Linked DNA regions of Homo sapiens: region 1 is linked to region 2. The links are contacts of gene promoters, found by promoter capture Hi-C in human tissues and cell types (Jung and others, 2019). All regions are on one chromosome and are shown on one strand. The core of a region is centred on a gene start or on the middle of the fragment in contact, and the rest is flanking DNA. Distances in the headings are between cores, read along the strand shown. Region 1 overlaps CTNNBL1 (catenin beta like 1). Region 2 holds the start of VSTM2L (V-set and transmembrane domain containing 2 like).

Region 1 (5,351 bases), core at 1,100-3,599, 120 kb before region 2:
GAAAACTAATGCTGTAAGCCCTTCCCATGAATTAAAGCCCCAGCTCCCCTGTGAGGGAATTCAGTAGCCTTGGTTGTCAGGAAATGCTTCCTTATATTGAGCCACGATTCAGCCCTCTGGATTGTGGTTGCTTTTAGAAGGGAAAGAAATGAGATATGGTTGGGTTGGGCAAGTGGAGGGCTTTGAGGGGAGTTGGCAAAGTTGTTTCTCATCCTGGATAATGATTTCAGGGGTGTTCACTTCATTTAGTTTTATATGTCCTTTATGGAGTTTTTCTGTATCTGTGTTATATTTCACGATAAAAAGATTTTGTTTTTTATTGGGTTTTGGTTTTTAAAAAAATCTGCTTGCCTGGAACTGTCAATTACTGATGGACCCAGTGGTCAGTAGAGTGTTTTGGCTTTTTTTTTTGCATGTATTTAATATATGTGAATCATTTAGTTTCTCTAAAATGGAAACTGATGAGAATTTTGTTTGGTGAGCTTCTGTTTCCTCAGTCGTAGAGTTATGACCCACAGGTTTTAGGAATTGTTGGATGGAGGCTCATGAAAAGACATTCTCTTATAGCTCTGTGCTTTGTGCTGTTTTTGCTTGACAGGTGTTTAAAAGACACAATCCCAGCACGGCTGAGGAGCAGGAGATGATGGAGAATCTGTTTGATTCCCTCTGCTCCTGTCTAATGCTTAGTTCCAATCGTGAGCGCTTCCTGAAGGGCGAGGGTCTTCAGCTGATGAATCTCATGCTCAGGTATGTTTCGAATGCCCTAGTTCTCCCACCTTTTTTGCCTGACTTTTCACTGTTAGCCTGAATTCAAGAGCATGTAGCTATGATCATTTATTCTGTTGGGTTTCCTAGACTTTACCCTGAAGAGTAAAGTCTTCAGGCATGGGGGGATGTGTTTGTATAGGTATGTGGTCTTTCCTAAAGTTAGAGTAGATGAATAAAAAGTATATTGTGTTCTGTTTGTGCCCTACTGTGGTGGTTGCTAATACGTCCACTCCATTGAAGGACATTGGTGTTTTTCCTCTCCTTCCCATAGTGTGTTAGTTTTGGGGAAATCTAGCCATTACTTCTAAACTTGGACTAATTTTCTGTATATATCACATAGACCTATCTATGCCATATGTTTGTATTTTTATTGAAAGCAGCGTATCATTCATATTTTTCACTCCTCATTCAGTAATGAGTTGTACATGTGCTGTATGCCTAGCTTAGGAAATATGAAAACGTGCAAGACAGTTCTAGAAACTTTTATTTATAGTACTTTCCTTGTGTGTCTTATTATTTATACGCTAATTCCTGAAAGTGGATCTTATATTAGTTTCACAGTTATTTTATAGAATCCTAAAGTTAGAAGCAAAAAGGGGAGAGGAAGCTTATGTTGATAACTCTTGAGACCCTGTCTAGGAAGGGGAGTAGAGAAGTGTGTGGGGGAAGGCTGAGGGGATAACCAGACTGTGGTATAGGGTCAAGGGACTTAAAAAAAAAAATCGAGCATGTTTATGTGGTTGGAAGATTCTAGTCATTATGAATTGTGCCCTACAGAGGAGCAAGTTGAGATTTAAAAAAAAAAAAAACAAGAAAAAAAGAAATGGAGCCAGAGTCTGCTGTCTTAAAACTTCAAGTATACTGAAAGTTCTGTTGAACTAAGATATTTCTTTGGAAAGGTTTTTCATAAATGTGATATATATTTGTTAAATAGAATTTAGAATACTAACATATAAAACTGCTATTAAAACATTGACAAGGTACTATGTTAAGTACTGGGCATACACAGAAATACCTAAGACAGAATTTCTGTCTCCACAAAGTTAGGAAAACAGTTCTGTGAGCTAAACACAGCCTGTCTTTGGGTGTATATTTTCTTCTAGTCTTTTTTTCTATAATTTTTAACAACTTTTTAAGCCTGCCACACATAGGATTTTCTGTATTGCTACATTTCAGACATAAGATGCTGTTTCCCATGCTGTGAATAATCTTCATGAGAGTTTTCAGTAACTGCATCATGGCCTCTAAGGGACTGTAGCTTACTTAGTATTCTTCTGTTGTTGGCATTGAGGATATTTCCAATGTTTTGCCGTTATAACAAATTCTACAGTGACCATTTTTGTGTTTAAAATGATGTTAGGATTATCCAGGTACAGTAAGTCCTCACTTAACATCATCAGTAACATTCTTGGAAACCATAACTTTAAGCGAAATGATGTATAATGAAACCAGTTTTTCTGATCATTGTTATAACGGTGTTATTTGAGGATCTGACCTCCTATATCCCGTTTTACTTAAAGTTGCCATTTCCAAGTCTATCTATGATGTTAAGTGATGACTTACTGTGTATATTTCTAAAATATATTATCTTTAAAAGGCTTCTGGGGGGCTGGAGGCACAGTAGACCTCTTCATTTGTCCAGTGTGTACCAGACCTTGCATTGACCAAAAGTCTTCCTTTGAGGAATTGCTTTTAAAAACAATTTTTAAAAAAATGCAGAGAGGAGCATGAGAAATTACTCAGAGGCCTTTTGTGTTTAGCTGATTTTTGCTAGCTTTACTCTCTTGAGTCTTTTGTTTATCTCCCTTACCCTTCTAATTGCTTGTCCTTTTGTTGAAATGACCCACCTTCTCTCAAGTAAATAGCATAAATAGAAGATACATTTGGCTTCTTGGATCTTCTAACCTTAACACAATGTTCTGAAGGGACTTTTCCTTAAGCTTCTTAAAGGTCTGAATTGCCAGTGTCTTTGGTTGGTTGAGTGCAAATATGAAGTGATATATTTCTGCAGCATATGGCTAGGTATTGCATAGCAGAGGGGAGCTGAATAAATAACCAGAAATATGGATTATTCAAACAGGAATGCTGAGATTCAGGGAGGCTAATTAAAGGAGAGCTCCAAAAAACTTAGAAACTGTACCTCTCTAGATCTCCTAACTTCATTTTTGAATGCTGAAGTTGCTGTTACATTCATTCTTTGGCATTAATTAGCTATATTAGCAGATTCAGCATTTCCTTTTTTCTCATTCCCATACTCTTTGTTCTGTGTTATTTTTCTTCAGACTCCCAAATGGAAAGTTTAATTGGGATGGAATTTTTTTTCCATACTATAGTCACCCTTTCTGATCTTCTAGTAAGAGCTGCCAGGTGGCTCTTTGTCTAGAGAGAGCCTATTCAAGACTATGAAGCTGTAACACTAGAAGTTCAGGAAAGTTTCTGTGGTTCCATTGCCCCTAAATATAGATCTTTACTTTGACTCAGTCATTCATCAGACAGTTGTGAAATGCCCACATGGAGAGGTGGCAGTATGGAGCAGGGTGGAAGAATGGGCCTGGGACTTGTAAGTGTGGGTTTGGAACATGCTCTTTTACTTACTAGCTCTGGATATTTGGTGAGTTACTTTAACCTTTGTGACCTTCTCACCCTCAGTTTTTCATCTGAAAACCGGCACTAATAATACCAAATTTACAGGTATTTTGGCAGAATTAAACTATATAAAGTATCTAGGAGAATTCTACAGTTGCAAAACACTGCTAAGGTACTATGTTAACTTTCTACGTTAAGTGCTAGGTTTATACAGAGATGAACAAAACAGGGTTCCTGCCTCCAAGAAGCTCAAAGGCTAGTGAGGGATGCACACATTAAATAACTATAATATAATTTAATATGATGACGCTTCAGGAGAACAGTTACTTTTGCATGTATATATACTCAGTGAATTTTTTTCCTTTCTGATTATTGATGAAGAAAGATCACAAACAAGATACTCATTGATACATACTCCCTCCTTCCCACACATATGTGCACACACACACAAGCATATATTCACTACCAATTTAATATTTTTGTCTACTTTATTGAGGCATAATTTTTATACAGTAAAATGTACGCATTTTAAGTGTACAGTTTTGACAGATGTTTCCACCACCACAGTGAAGATGTAGAACAGCACTATCCAGTCGAAATGTAATGTGAGATAGGTAATTTTACATTTTGTAGTAGCTACCACATTTAAAGGGTTAAAAGAAACAAAAATAATTTTAATAATGTATTTTATTTAACATAGTAAGTCAAAAATTATTTCAACATGTAATCAATATGACAAAATTATTAGTAAGCCATTTCACATTCATTTTTTGAGACTAAGTTTTCAAAATCCAGTGAACATTTTACATTTACATCCCAATTCAGATGCTAAATTTTCATCAGAATGCTTGATTTGTATTTAGATTTCATAAAATTTAGAGTTGAAAACATAGATTCTCATACTTAAGTTTGTCCAAAGATACTTAAATGTTTTCCAATAAGTCCAGTATCAATTTTTAAATTTTAAACTTAAATTTATTTAAATTATATTTAAAATTTAGTTTCTCAGTTACAATAGCCACATTTCAGATGCTCAGTAGCTACACAGTGTCTACCATATAGGATGATGTATATACAGATTCTTTTTATCACTCCCAAAGGTTCCCTTGCATGCCGCCAGGCCTGGCTAATTTTTTAAAAATATTTTTGGCAGAGACAGGATTTCACCATGTTGCCCAGGCTGATCTTGAACTCCTGAGCTCAAGCTATCCACCTTTCTTGGCCTCCCAAAGTGCTGGAATTACATGTGTGAGCCATTGCACCTGGCCAAATGCCTCCTTTTTCATTTCCGGTTTTTATTTATTTGATCCTCTCTCTTTTTTTCTTAATCTGGCTAAAGGTTTATTGATTTTGTTTATCTTTTGAAACCTAACTTTTAATTTTGTTGATCTTTTTTATCTTTTTTTGTTTGTTTCATTTATTTCTGCTCTGATCTTTATTATTTCTCTTCGTCTACTAATTATGGGTTTGGTTGGCTCTTACTTTTCTAATTCTTTAAGATGTATTGTTAGGTTGTGTATTTGAAGTTTTTCTACTTTTTTGTTGTAGGTGCTTATTGCTATGAACTTTCCTCTTAATACTGCTTTTGTTGTATCCCATAAATTTTGGTATGTTGTGTTTCCATTTTCATTTGCTTCAGACTGTTTTAATTTCTTTCTTAATTTCTTCATTGGCCCACTGGTTATTCAAGAGCATATTGTTTAATTTCTGTTTGAATAGTTTCTGGAATTCCTCTTGTTATTGATTTCTAGTTTTTTTCCATTGTGATCAGAGAAGATACTTGACAGAATTTCAGTTTTCTTGTATTTTTAAAGAATTGTTTTGTGGCCTAACACATGAACTATTCTTGAGAATGACCCATGTGCTAAGGAGAAGAATGTGTATTCTGCAGCTTTTGGATGATATGGTTTGTCACTATCTATTAAGTCCATTTAGTCTATACTGCAGATGAAGTTTGATGTTTGTTGATTTTCTGTCTGGATGTTTGATCCAGTGCT
Region 2 (4,899 bases), core at 751-3,250:
CTGGTGAGGCCTCAGGCTGGGGTTGAAGGAGTCCTGGGTTTTAGTCTGGCTAACATGGTGGCTGCTATGTGATCTGGAGGATTCTCAGTTTCCATATCTTTATGATGGAAGCAGTAGTTCATTTCGCTGGGAGCGGGGTTCAGGGTAGTTAATGAATGAGAAAACACGTGCATAGAGTCCAAGACGCCTGGCCAGCCCAGGATAACCTAAACACCACCTCTGTGTGGGAAGAAAGTGAGAAGTGAGAGAATCAGGCAAACACGGCCCCTTCCTCCAAGGCATGTGGTCCAGAAGGTTCGGGGGGTGGGGGAAGCGGTCGACGCTTGGGACCTGTCCTCGGTACTGAAGGGAGCGCGGGGGCTGTGGACGGTGCTAGAACACAGTGCTTGTAAGTGCGGGACATCGTGGAGGAGGTGTCCTTAGTTTGGAAGGAGCTGGATTGTTGCTGGCTACCACGGGCCCCATCCGGTGTGCTACCCCCCCCCCATAATACTGGAAGGGGGGCGCTAAGACAGAGGGAAGACGGCGAGGGGCTATGTTCCTTGGTCTCTAACCTTGTTCTCAAACTTGGGCGCTGTACACACGGCTGGACGCGGGATCCACCTGTGTTCTGGAGTGGGGAGTGGGCTGTCGGAGGGGTTGACCCTGTTCGACGGGGACGGGGAAGAAAGTCTGAGGGTCTGTCCACGGTGTGAACCCTAGCATCAAAGGGCCAGTTGAGACGCTGTCCACGGTGCCCAAAGGATGGGCCCGGGTGGGGCGGGGGGCGGGGGGCGGGGGGGGGGCTGGCGCTGTCCTCCTCCGTGGTGCTGAAACCGGGAGGACCAGGCTGTGTGAGCAGGGAGGCCTGGGGAAGGGCAAGGGATGAGAGCAGGAGGGACCCCGCCCAGGAGTCAGGGGCCTCGCCCGACTCGCCGTGGGACCTCAGAGAAGCTAATTACCTGATTTCAGGCGCTTCCTTATCTTTTAAATGGGACCACAGTTCCGCCCTCCTGTCTGTCCCATCAGCCCCAGTAACACGGCTTGGGAAGGAACTGGAGGACTTTGTTGGATTCTTGCTCTTGGGAATGGGAATGGTGCCCTATCCCCCTCCCCTGCCACACTCACACACACATACACCCACGCATACGCGCGCGCACACGCACACGCACACACACACTCATGCACACACACACCATCAAGGCTCATTGGTCTAGGGAAGGAGCCTACAGTCCAGAAGGGGGCGATCCCATCCACCACATAAGGTCCAGTATCTTCAAGAGCCAGGAGCCGCAACAACTAACTGGCCTGTCTCTCTCCCATTACAAAGACTCGAAAACTGAGTCCCAGAAAGGGGAACACCGACAATAATAACTACTGAGCTCCTACCACGTAGGCAGCATTATGCTAAGCGCTTTGCATGCACGATTTCGCAAATCCTCACCAGGACCCCCGCAGACAGCTATTACCCCTATTTCTCAGATGAAGACTTCGAGGTTCAGAGAGGGGTAGACACCCGGACGCGATCACACAGCGAGCCGAGGTCGGCGGCAGAGCTATCACCAGGTCCCCTGGGTCTCAGCCCAGGCTCCCACCCTACCTCGCCCTCACCCCCAGCCCCACTGGCCCCTGACCCCGGCCCCGCCCTGCCGGTAAAGTTAGGAGCCTCTGAGTGCGCTGGCCTGGCGGCGGGTGCCCTGGCTTTTCTCCCTCTCCCCGCTGGACGGCATTTCTGTGGCTGAAGCCCGTTGGGTCGTGCTTTGCGGGAACCGCGTCCCTGGGGTGGCTCTCTCCGCCCCATCCCGGCCCCGCCTCCGCACTCGGGCGGGGGAAAGTTGCGGGTACCGCTTTAAAAATCCCAGCCTGGGCAAAACTTTGATGATAAATCAAGCGGCAGATCCCTCCGCCGCCTGCTCCGAGCGGGAGGAGGGAGGGGAGGAGGGAGGGGAGGAGGGAGGCGGGAGGAGGGAGGAGGGTGCGGCGGCGGCGCGGCGTGGCCTTCCGCGGAAGGGAAGAGTCCCGCAGTCGGAGGCGGCCGGCTGGGCGTGCGCTCGCTCCCCGAAGCCGGGGCTGGGCCGGAGCCGGGCGAGGGCTGGGAGCTGGGCCGGGTCCGGGGACAGCGGGCGAGGGGCAGCTGCCGGAGCCGGGCAGCCAGGCCGCTCAGGGCAGGGGACAGCTGGCGCCGGTTCTGCGGTCTCCGGGGCCCAGATGTGAGGCGGCGGCGCCCCCGGCCCGAGAGCGCACGATGGGGGCCCCGCTCGCCGTAGCGCTGGGCGCCCTCCACTACCTGGCACTTTTCCTGCAACTCGGCGGCGCCACGCGGCCCGCCGGCCACGCGCCCTGGGACAACCACGTCTCCGGCCACGGTGAGTTCGGTCGCCGCCCCCGCGGACTTCCCCACCAAACCCCAACCCGGGCCGCGCCACTCCAACTTGGCCGCCCCGGGGCTCGAACCGGCGCCAGTCGTGGCGGGCATCCCGGGGCGCCCCCTGCCGGCGCGGTGGACCCGCCCTGGCACCCTGGCCCTGCAGAGAAGGGGGCACCCGGGGCGCACCCCCGAACCTCCTCCCCACACACTCGCGCGGATACGCACACCTGCATGGCCACACCGATATGCACAGCCGCGGACACACTCAGAGCCACAGTCGCTGCTTTCTCACACTCACAACTCCTACCCTGCACATCTCCACACACCTCAGGTCCCCCTCCTCACTGCAAGCCTTTACACTTATGCCCACTACACACGCACATCAGGCACTGCGCCGGTGGGCTCACTCTGCCAGCTGGCGCACACGCTTCGCCACAACTCTTGCCTGCCCACCTGCAGACACACTGGTGCGCGCGCGCGCACACACACACAGGCACACACATACACACACATGAACACAATTTGCTCACCCACTCCTCTCTGCCCATCTGCCTTTACTCTTCTGGGTTTAACCGCACAGAGGCCCTTGTCCTCTTCCTCTCCACACCCAGCCCTATACCACTGGAAAGGTCCTTGGGGGCAGAAGACCTTGTTTCTTGAGAACTGGTCGCCTGGGGCTGCAGCCTCCCAGTTGGGCGGGTGGCACCTGGTGGAAGCCCCTCAGAGCCACCGGAGTAGTTGGGGTTGCTGCTTGCAGCCAGAGGCATGGGAGTGGGAGTGGAAGTGGAATGCCGGGTGCTTTTGTCTGCCTCTGGGGATGGGCAGGAAGCCGTGCCATCCTTCCATAGGGTACCCCCATCCTCATCCTCGGCCCTAGAGGACTGAAATGTGGGAAATCTCAACTCCAGCCGCTGTGGAAGCCGGGGAGCAGACAAGCATTCCCAGCACTGGCTGGCTGAGTGTCAGAAGCTCCTGCTAGCCCCGAAGGAGCCCAAGTTGGCAGCAGAGTTGGACTGTATGAGCCCGGCAGCTGTGGGGGCTCCCCCTGACCCCTGTGAGCCTGGCTCTGGGATGGAGGCTCGAGCATAGATGAAACCAAAGGAGACCTTTCTTCCATGCAGCCCTTCACTAGACAGGCTGACAGCCTTGTTGGGGAGGCTGCAGCCCCAGTGCTGGGCACTGTGGGCCCAGGGCTGTGGGGAGGTTTGCACAAAGGCCAGATAATTGGATGATTTATTCTGATGGGAGTGAGTGGGGGTAAGGCAGGGTAGATAATCAGGGAAGGTTTTGCTGGGGTATGACACATGAGTGGGATTGCTCCAGTGGAGAGGGGGGCTTCGAAGCCATCCTCAGGGTCTCTGCTTTTTGGGAACCATGACTCCCCGCCCCCTTCTGCCTCACCATGTTTGGTAGTAACTGCTGTGTGCATCATTTACATACCCTTCATGCCCCTCACCTCATTTCTACCGACCTGGCTAGAGCGGTGGTAAATAAGGAAAGGGTTCTTTTGATCCTCAACTTACAGATAGGGAAACCAAGGCTCAGAGAGGTGAAGGAAGTTGCCCAAGGTCACACAGTAAGAGAGTGACTGAGCCAGGACAGGCCCCAGGGTCTGTCAGGCAAAGACAGCGCTTTTTTCCAGGACATTCATCTCCCTGTCAGATTCCCTCCCATTCTAGGGAAACTGGGAATTCCTCCCTCTCCACCCCTCCTCTCCTCGCTCCGCTCAGTCCCTTGGCACAGTTGGAACTTACACTAGGAGGGGTTTCCATGGAGGGCCTTCCCTGAGTTTGCAGTCCCGAGGGGTATGAGGAATGGGACTCTGAGGCTTATGGTCGTTCTGTCCCTAGAGCACCAGACCCCAGGGACTTGGGTGCCAGTCTGTTATTCCCAAGGCCCCAAGGTGGCTCCCCCCCATAGAAAAGCAGGGTCTGTCTGCCCTTTGTGTGACAGTCTCTACCTGTCCCCTGGTGCCAGGTAAGCTGAGGGGGCACAGCTCTGCCCAACCAGCTGTAATCTCCCCTCTGCACCCTGGAAGGTCAAGCTAAGGCCCAGGACAGGGGCTAGATGAGAAGGAGGCACCCCTAGTTGCTGGGGAACCTGGCTTCTCTCCTGAAACCCCCGTGTGGCTCTGGGCAAGTGAGCCACCCCTCTGGGTCTCCCTGTGTCCCTAAAGAAACAAAGAAGCCAGGCTGCTCTGCAGGGGCCAGGCTGCCTTCCCCCGACATTGCCAGGTTCAAAGTCACCAAGTAGTGACTGCCGAGGAGCCCCCACAGCTGCCCCTCTGCCGTGCCAAGCACCCGCCACCACAGGAAGGGTTTGGAGCCACTCACTTAATCACAAAAAGAAACTGTTATTAATGATAGTGAGACGCGGCGAATAAGTGGGTCATGTCTAATAAGCTATTTGTGTTCAGGAGGAGAATACCAATTTGATAAAAGCTGTGTGTGCTGAAAAAGCTCAGAAATTGCTGTTTAGCAGATTGGGGCCTGATCATTTCATTATTCCTGGGCTCCGTGTGTCCTCAGCTGATTCAGGAAATGTGGCCCAGT

Evidence for each region. The method cuts DNA at HindIII sites, captures the fragments that hold promoters and counts their contacts. A contact is called where the count stands out against the background at its distance.
Region 1: a contact is called between a fragment that was not itself captured here and the fragment with the promoter of VSTM2L in region 2, in 3 of the 25 tissues and cell types used here (IMR-90 fibroblasts, bladder and neural progenitor cells).

What each region holds. Positions count from the first base shown.
Region 1 is chr20:37,778,589-37,783,939 of GRCh38, forward strand. It overlaps CTNNBL1 (catenin beta like 1), which reads left to right. Exons shown (of 16, transcript NM_030877.5): 10 at 599-747. Among named protein-coding and RNA genes, the nearest start is that of CTNNBL1, 87 kb to the left of the region's middle. The HindIII fragment of the contact is 4,926 bases long and covers 1-4,812 here.
Region 2 is chr20:37,901,127-37,906,025 of GRCh38, forward strand. It overlaps VSTM2L (V-set and transmembrane domain containing 2 like), which reads left to right and starts at 2,001. Exons shown (of 4, transcript NM_080607.3): 1 at 2,001-2,345. The coding sequence starts at 2,225. All of the region lies in intron 2 of LOC124904896 (a long non-coding RNA gene), which reads right to left. RefSeq lists an enhancer at 1,301-2,264. The HindIII fragment of the contact is 19,122 bases long and covers 1-4,899 here.